Linked DNA regions of Homo sapiens: region 1 is linked to region 2. Evidence: promoter capture Hi-C in human tissues and cell types (Jung and others, 2019). All regions are on one chromosome and are shown on one strand. The core of a region is centred on a gene start or on the middle of the fragment in contact, and the rest is flanking DNA. Distances in the headings are between cores, read along the strand shown.

What was found. Contacts are between HindIII fragments. The study calls those that stand out against the background at their distance.
Region 1: a contact is called between a fragment that was not itself captured here and the fragment with the promoter of XKR3 in region 2, in 2 of the 25 tissues and cell types used here (H1 embryonic stem cells and spleen).

The regions. Positions count from the first base shown.
Region 1 is chr22:16,927,684-16,932,510 of GRCh38, forward strand. No RefSeq gene overlaps it. Among named protein-coding and RNA genes, the nearest start is that of GAB4, 78 kb to the right of the region's middle. The HindIII fragment of the contact is 8,642 bases long and covers 1-4,827 here.
Region 2 is chr22:16,823,250-16,827,933 of GRCh38, forward strand. It overlaps XKR3 (XK related 3), which reads right to left and starts at 2,162. Exons shown (of 4, transcript NM_001386955.1): 1 at 2,042-2,162. It also overlaps the pseudogene HSFY1P1. The HindIII fragment of the contact is 14,808 bases long and covers 1-4,684 here.

The DNA.
Region 1 (4,827 bases), core at 2,044-4,543, 110 kb after region 2:
AGGAAACATTTCCATATAACAAGCAGTTTAATCCACTCTTTACAATCTTCCCAGAATTCTAGACATACAGACTGCTGGGAAGAGTGCCCCCCACTGAGCACCTACTGTTTGCCAGGTACTCCCAATACACTGGGATACAGCAATGCAAATAATAGACAATGGCCCCGATCCCATGAAGCTTAAATTCATCTAAAGGGAGTCAGCATATAAAGTGTAAAATCATAAAGAAATAAATTATATATATATATAAGGTAGAATGTGAAAAACGCCTCCAGCAAAAGCATGGAGTAGGGTGTCCTATGAACACATTCAGAGAGATCATTAAGATGGGAAGTTCTAGGTTGTCTTTGGGAGTCAGGGAGGGAGCCCAAGAGGGGTCTGGAGAAAAGCATCACTGCTGAGGGACCAGTGAGTAGAGCTCCAAGCGTGGGACTGTGTGAGCCTTGTTTAGGGCAGAACCAGGAAACCAGAGAGTCAAGTCTGGAGTCCAGTGAGTCAGAGGACAGAACCATGAAAGCGGTTGCATAAGTAACAGGGAGGGTTCAAGGAAGATGGGGCCAGGTAGGAATTGGCCTTTTACTCTGTGTGATGTGGAAACTTTTGTGAGATTTTGACCCTGGAGGAGCACTATTCATCTATTTAAAAGATCACCCTGGCTACTGAATTGGGAGTAGACTGCTGGTGGGTGAGGGGAGAAGCTGGGTGATCTGAGGAGAGCCTGGCCATGGTCTAAGATGAAGATGATGTTGGTTTCACTAGTGTGGAGCAGTGGGGGTGAAGGTGGGGAAATGGTGAGATTTGGGAAACATTTGAGTTCTGAGATTATTGGCTCCCCCTCTGCTGGTTGCAAGGTGTTTTGTGGGATGTGTTGAGCATGCAATTCCTCTAACTTCTCTTGTTTGTTTTTTTTCATGGAGAATTTTTTCTCTGCCTTCTGGTGCTCAGGAAGAAGACTTCTCATTTCCTCTTAGGCTTCTTGTGAGTAACCAAGATTTTGTTCTAGCTCACATTTCCTTTCCCTGCTTGTTCACATCTCCTGAAAGAAGATACCCACGTGCTCTCCACTACGAGGAGTCTCAACCTGCTATCCAAAGGCCTCAGTCTAATGTTTTCTTTTTTGCCTTCATATTATTTTCTTGTTTCCTTGTCATTATCTTAGGAGTCACATAAAGTAACATTTTTCTGTGATTCTTAGCTATTGAAAATGCCATTTTAATCACACTACTTCCCTCCCTTAATGTCTATTAATGAACTTCTCGAAGGTGTTAAGAGACAAAACCATGTGCTCAAATTGTTGCACAGGGACCACTCCACTCTCTAGCAGCACTTCTGGGGCCTCTCACAGAGTGTCCCATCCAGGTAGCCCTGCAGAATCCCCGTCTTGTCACACTCCTCACTGACTTCTGTGAGTCAGATTTTCTGAGTAGAATCCTGGCTTACAATTTGGATGTAATGCGCCCCTTGGAGGCATTTCATGACCTCTCCCTGCCTCAGTATTGTCAGCTGAAGATGAGAATAAAACATACTTGTCATAAAAAGAGTTAGTTCAGTTCACGACACATAAAAACCATTCAGCTGACGGCAGCTGCATGAGAAAGCCCAGGCCAGGCAGCAGAAAAACCTCCCAACCAACCCATAGAATCACAACAAATAATAAATTGTTGTTTCACTCCTTTAAGTTTTGGAGTGCTCTTATATGCTGCAAGAAAATGGAAAAATTAATATATCAATCCAGGTAAAGCACCTGTCTAGGAAACACCTTAGCTTCACAACCCTTTGCCTCTCCCTCTTTGTAGATCAGGTGTAAACTTGAAGTAATAACTCTTCAATCTTCCCCTGTATCAACAGGCCAGAAATCACAGACTCTGAGAACAAAGACAACTATAATATGAACGCTTCACACTCTCAGATTATGGCTTCTGCAGGAAGCAAGTGTCTTTGCATCAGGGCAGAATCTTCCATCCAGAAAGGGTATTTTTGGTTGGGGACTTTTCACTGTAAGAAGCCAACTGAAGGGCTGCTGGCAGGAAAACACTCCAGCATCTTCAGCTTTCACTCCATGGATGGAGAGGGAGAAGCAAAAACCAGAAACTTCCCTGGAAACTGGAAGCGGTTCCAGCAGCCTGGGAAGAAGCCCCAAAGAGCAGCAGACTGGAAGCCTCCTGGGATCTCTGCTTGTCCTAGGTGATGGAGGTGCCTACATCTGTGCTGTTTCTGCAGGTGATAGAGACAAAGTCACCTCCAGATGCTGCTAAGGTCTCCGGAGATGGAGTTGAGATAGTCTGTCCCCTGCATCCTGCAAGGACACCCTATTCAGGAGCACAATGCATTACTTCTCTCAAAGGATTTCTAGAAACCTGTCCTGTTCCTTAGAAGACCCTGTCATGCTTAAACATGACAGAAATTAGTACTCCTGGGCCCTCACATCTTTGCATTTGATCAGAATCAAGATAGAATTGGCTGGGGAGGGGTTCTCAGGACAAGGGCACCTATGAAAGGGGATACAAGCATGGTAGAGCCCACCCTGAGGGGCTAATGGTCAGGTCCATTCTTCACAGCCTGACCAGAACCACAGTGAGCTCTGAAGAGAGGTGGACATGGGGTGTGAGCAGGGACAGAGGATCCATGGTCCTCAGGGAGGCTGGGAACAGGTTCAGGGCTGTATGCACCTCTGCCTCCTGGTTAGCCCTGGACTCTGTGCCTCAGTTTCCTAATGAGAGTTAAGGCAAATCACTTCTATATGTTACACTATAATTTCCAAAGCACATTTGAGCTCATTATCCCCATGTCAAGGGCTAAAGCCCCTGCATGGTCTGCAGTGGGAAATGCACTCACCCTGAAAGCCCATCACCAAGAGGCAGAGGAGCAGGGCCAGGAAGAGCATCTTGGAGTGTCCAGGGAACCTGCTGCTTCTAGACCTAAGGGCAAGGGGAGTGTGGATGGGCAGGTCATTCCTGTCATGGCTCTGTATAAACAGGTTGCACATCCCAAGATTTAAATAAGCACAGATTTCCTTGGAGTCAAGGCCTGATGACCTTAAGCAGAGCCCCTCTCCAGGAGTCTCCCAGGGCAGGCAGGCTCACTCCACCTGTGGCTGCCAGGAAGTGGTGGGGGTGACGTAGATGCCTCGGGTCCCATGGTGGCTGAGGCTGGACTGAGCAGGGCCAGTGATGCTGCCCCATTCCCAGGGTTCCACTCCAGAGGCTGGGACAGGGGTCACCCCAGAGCCAGCCAGATGTCTGCAGAGAGGCCTCTGGATGTTCTATTTTTATGCCACTAAATGTTTGGCAATTTGTTACAGCAGCCCTAGAAAAATAACACAAAAAGTGCTCAGGGAAAATCCAGACTAAAGATGCAATGGCCATTTCCGATCTTCTTGTTTAACTATCAACTCTATACATAAATGGATTGGTGGGGAATTTTATGGTAGAAAAACTTGGCAAATGTGATGAAGGATCTTGAGAACTGAATACTATCTTGGAGTATTTTTGGACCCCATGTAATCATAATTGTCTGCATAAGAGGGAGGAAGGAGGGTCAGATTTGGAGAGGAGATGTGACTATGAAGAAGCTGAGTGATGTGAGGGAAAGGCCATGGCCAAGGAAAGACAGCAGCCTCTAGAAGATGGAAAAGGCAAGAAAACAAACTCTTTCCCACAGGGAAGCTTGATTTTAGCCCAAAGACACCTGTGTGAGATTTCTCTCTTCCAGAATTGTGAAAGAATGATTCTATGCTATTTGAAGCCAGTAATGACATAGTGATTTGTTACAGCTGCTATAGGAAACTCACACAAGGTGAAAGAATGGCATTTGCCTCTCTGAGAAGATGTTTCTCTCTGATCTCTCAGCCTTTTCCAACTTGTTAGCCTTTGGTTTCAATTTGGACAAGAGACAGAGCACAGTTTACTATAAGGAGAGCTAGCACCAGAATTCCACGTAGGGAGAAAATCTCCTGGGTAAACCCCTAGATTGAGTTTTGTACACTGCAGGTGTCTGAGAGCCTAGGGGTCAGATCTCATTACTCCTGAGGAGGGTGGGATTTCCTAGTAGGAGGACAAATTAGATTTGCAGGACACAATCTAATTAGGAAGAAAGAGGGAAGGCTGGAGTCAGAGATGGAAACTAATGGAAGAGAGGAGGAAGGCTCAGGGCAAGGAAAGATGTGACCCTTCCCCCAAGTCTGAAATAAAGCTGTTCAGAGATTTAAAGTCTTTGAGAAAGTTGCATTTTTGCAGAAGAAACTGCAGAAGGGGCTGATTTTAAGTTCCTTTTGCCATATAAGGCTAATTTTATGGTTCCAGAGGGTAGAAGGTGAACATCTTTTCATGGGGGGATAGTAATTTACTCAGACTACCAAACCCCCTAATTGTCTGCCAGCTGCCTTCCTTAAAGAAGAATCCAAAGCCTCACGGCTGGGAGAAGGGAGAACAGGGAGCAGCCAGCAGCTTTATAAAGCAAGAGAGCTGAAGGGATCTGAGTCAGGGCCCTCTGGTCTGGGTGTTTCCTGGGCTGGAAGATTCTTCTCCTGCTGCTCTAATGTGGACCTCATAGTGTGGAGCTATTTGTTAGGGGCTCCTCTGATGTTGTGACCCAGAAGAAAGGAATTGCTATTTAATCAGAATCTATGAGAGACTGATAAAACAAATTAAATGTTTTAGACATTTTCTAAATTTCTCTATCCATTATAAGAGGAGAAGTATCAACAATTTGATGACACCTCCACTAATGAGGATTTGCCTATAGTCTTAGGTTGGGTTTCTAACGACAAGGATTCCCATGTGAGCACCATAATTACAAGCTGCAGGAAACCCTGAGACTGAAGGCAGA
Region 2 (4,684 bases), core at 912-3,411:
CATTAGAATCTTCCTGGGGAGATAGCAGTGTAGAGAAAATAATACATCGGCAGCAGGAAGAAGAGTTCGTGGTACACAGTGAAGTTTGGAAAGGTGTTCCTATTGACATCATTATAATCATGACCACCATCATCATTTCTTAGAAACACAGAATTGACAGGACTCACTGATTAAGAGTATTTGACAGTGAAATATGAGAGAAGAGATTGCCTTGGTCAATTCTTGAGTATCCATCTGGTAGAGCTTGGAAAAGTGGTGGAAGCAGAATTTTTGGGAAAAACATTTAAAATAAACTTAAACACCTTACTTTTGATCTGCGTGATGTACAGAACTGGTGATGAACAGGGCAACCTTGTCACTTTAAAATATATCTGATTGCCAATTTGCAGCATCACAAGACTAGTAAACATTTACTGTGAAACATTCAGAAAATACAAATTACCAAAAGAATAGAGTTTACCTATTGCTTAGTTTTCTCCAGCAATGGAGAGATCAATAATAATAAATCTGACACCAATTCAAAATATGAAACTTTAGGGTACTCAAGTACTAAAAGGTTTTTTTTTTTTAATGTAAACAAACTCACAGGTAACAGTGTCCAAAGTAGAACATTAGAAATGAGAGATTCTTGATGTAACAACAGGTCCAGGTGATGATAATTCAAGGCTGCTGAAACAAGTGAATGAAATCTTGAAGGGATCTTAATGATGAGAACTAATTCTTGCTTGTTGGAGTGATGAGACAAATGGTCCAAAAATTAAAAAACAAAACAAAACAACAACAACAACAAAATAATTTGTTGCTTGCAAATAGGCCCTAGAAGCAATATGAAACAGTCTTCAAATGAATAGATGAGAAAAATCGCATCTGACCTAATTAATTCAATGTCACAAAAAGAGAGACAATGTGTTATTTAAAGGGATGAGACAGAAAAAACACTCTTGTAAATAAAGAGAGAAGAGTACAATGAAGTACCCATTTCCACCTACGAGGAACGGGCATGTAAGAAAATACGGGAATCATGTGCAGATGATATAATTACTTATCTAGAGGCACCATAAAAATGTTTTTCCCCAAATAATGTCCATTAGGGATAAAATTTTAAGAAAGAAAGGATGTTACTTTTAAAGACAATTGTTAAATACCTAGTAAATAGAGTAAGTGAGTAAGAAAAGCAGAAAGAAAATAAGTTGCAGCTACCAGATACCCACAAAAAGAAAGAAAAGGGAAAAAGAAGGAATGGAGGGAGAGAGCACAAATGGAAAGAAAAAGGGTGGGAAGGAGGAGGGAGAGTAGAGAGAGAAATTACAGAAGTAGGCGAGGGGTATAAAGGAAAGCATGGAAAGACAACTGCAGAGACATCAGAGTTTCTGGGCCTCAGGATAGGGGAAAAATACATCCAACATTATAAGAAATATATCCCACTCTCTCCCCAGCAATCCATACATCGAATATGATATTAATGCAGATTGCACCTTTCTGGCTGCCCCAACCACTTCCTTCTCCTTTGGACTCACAGAAGGACCTCTATAATTTATTTCTGGAAAACACTTATGAAAATATGCACATATGAAAAGGGCCACAGAGTTTAGAAATGGGTCTTCCAGAGTCTAAAATTCAAGGTAGAAAGTGAAAGTGAAGTCACTGAACAATGGAATTTAGGCATGTGTTTGTGATTAAGTGAACTTGTTTCTTGTACTCACATAGCCAGTGCATCACTGCATCTGAATAACAAAAAATATGGTAGATTTCTGCCCCTTTGAGATTTCACTTAAATACGAAGCACTTTCTCCTTCTGATGTTTAAAAACATGCTGAAATTTGTAATATATTAGTAACAACCACTGTCCCACCCAAATGCTAAGCAGCTGCTTCTCTTCTCTGAAAATCAGAATCAAGAGAGGGAGTTTCTAGGCTCAAGACTCGGGAAAAGCCACCCCTGATATCCAGAGATTTATGTTAAGATCCCCAGCTGAGACAGGCAGAGGTCAAGGTAGGCTGAAGAAGCTGATCTGAGATGGTCGAGGGCTGCTCCTACTTACCTTGCCTATTTGCCACCCTCACAGTTTTGAAACTCGTTCAAAAAGTAAATGCTTTTGTTCACCTCTTTAACAGCACCATTTCTGGTCTCGTTTTCAACACTACGTCCTTTGCTTTGCAGGTAAAATTGCTTATTTTCTTGCCTTTTTATGACTAAAGTAGGCTTGCAGTTTGGAGTCAGGTGACTGCACTAGCTGAGTCATCTTCCCTTGAAAACACCAAGGCATTCTTCCTCCCTACAGAGTCACACATCTTAGTTCCCCAAAACGCTCAGCCACAATTTGACTTCGATTGTCCTACATTTAAGGTGATATTTTTCTGATTCTCCCATTAACTCCCTCTTCTCTTCGCACCCATGGCCCATCTTTTGCTGCTGTCTAGTAGCCATTCATCCCCTCCCATCACAAAAGAAGTCTGTACTTCCTTCAGACAGAGCAACAAGAAAATTCCCCAGAAAGCAAACAATTAAACAAATTTTAATTTTGCCTTTTTTAAATGAAAATTCTGTCAAAATTGATGAACCACATCTGGTAGGAGCACCTGTTTTATTTTCACAAAGAGTTTTCTGATCTGGACATTTTTGTTACTTACTGCTAATATGGAAAATTTTGAACTAAACAAAATACACCCCCAAAACTTAAACTATGTTAAACCAAGACAAGCTTCTAACAATGACACCTCTTTCCAGTATGAGAGAACTGCCTCCTACAGTATAAGAAATATCAAAATCATTATTTTTTTATTCCACACATATTCAACACTTAAAGCCAAGGCATTAGAATTTTAATATACCACCTCTCAAGCATGAACATATAAAAATTCTTACTGTAAATGGGGCATGATTATTTTTCAAAGAGAAGAAATATTTTATTCAATTCTAAGATTAATTCACAAATTTGACTCCTGTTTTATAATGATAACTTTACGTTGCAGGACACAGAGATTATTCCTTAAGAAATATTTTTTAAATAGATATTTGGCTCTTGGAACCAAATAATAAAATTTTCTGCTTAGACATACATACAAATTTACTTTACTTAAAACACTTTCTTGTTATTATTACATTTTTAAATCTCCCACTCTTTGGGATCTCCTTATAAGTAGGTCACTTGCTTTTAAAATCTTACATAATTAACATGTCAGATATTTACAGACATACCAAATGAAAGTATTATTTATTCTATGATATGAATAAAAAATGTTTTGAATAGATACATACATGAATAACTTTTTATTCTGAAATCTAATCAGTTTTATTCATATTTGATTTTATTTTAATTTTTTAAGGTATGTTTCACATAATACAAAATTACATTATTCAAAATTATATTATTAAAACATTTCTATCATCAAACAGGAAACCCCATTATCTACTTAACAGTTCTTTCTATTCCCCAGCCCCTGACAACCATTAACCTACCTTTTGTCTATATGGCCATGTCTTTTTACCATATATGTTTTACACTGCATCAGTTTTCAATCCAACATGCCAAGCTGAGAGAGTTTTTAAAATATTTATTTTTATTTTTTTGCACCGTCCAATTACCAGGCCCTATGCTCCTCGCACCAATCTAGTAAGACTGTGTGTGTCAAGGAGAAAATTATGTTTATTTCAGGGATTGAGGATATTAATTAATTTATTTATTTATTTATTTATTTATTTATTTATTATTTTCTTAAGACAGAGTCTTGCTCTGTTGCCCAGGCTGGAGTGCAGTGGCACAATCTCAGCTCACTGCAGCTTCCGCCTCCTGGGTTCAAACGATTCTTCTGCCTCAGCCTCCCGAGACCTGGGACTACAGGCACATGGACCACACCTGGCTAATTTTTGTATTTTTAGTAGAGACAGGGTGTCACCATGGTGGTCAGGCTGGTCTCGAACTCATGACCTCATGATCCGCCTGTCCCGGCCTCCCAAAGCGCTGGGATTGCAGGCATGAGCCACCATGCCTGGCCCTCCTTATTAATTTAAAAGATTCTGCAGGCATGAAACTTTTGCAGAATAAACTGTGTAAGTAATCATTCTATATTTTATTTTTACCAGATACATTTCTGAGACTGGAAAGTAAACAGTCTTGGCCAAATTTTTATGTTTGTTGCTAGGTGACCAAAGTCCTCTTGTGATGCCATTGCTACTCAGGTTGGAAACCACTGTGGTGATCTCAATTACTTTACCTGAGTAGACTACTGAAGCAGCATTTGAAGCTGCAGTCTTGAAACACATGCAGGCTGGAAAAGTCGCTAAAGAATTACTTATTTGAGATGGCACATGTTTCTGCAGAAACTCAAGATGTTTCTCCTAAAGATGAATCAACTGGTTCAAAAGCCTCCTCTGGGTCTCCATTGTGTGAACACATAATCCCTGGGGATTCAGACTTAAGGTCAATGACTGAATCAATGATTTTCAGGTTTTGCCACAAGGATCCTTGATAAAAAGGCCACATTATACTTTATGTCTCTGAGCCAGATAAAGATAATGATTTTCCTTCTCTGACCTTTCCCAGTAAACTTTGGAAAATAGCTGAAAGTGACCAATTCAAGTCTAATTCATAGGATAAGAATGAAACTTGCATAGTGACTAATGAAGAACTCTTCAAGAAAGAAAATTTGGAAATAAAGGCTCCTTACAGAATATTTCAAACTGA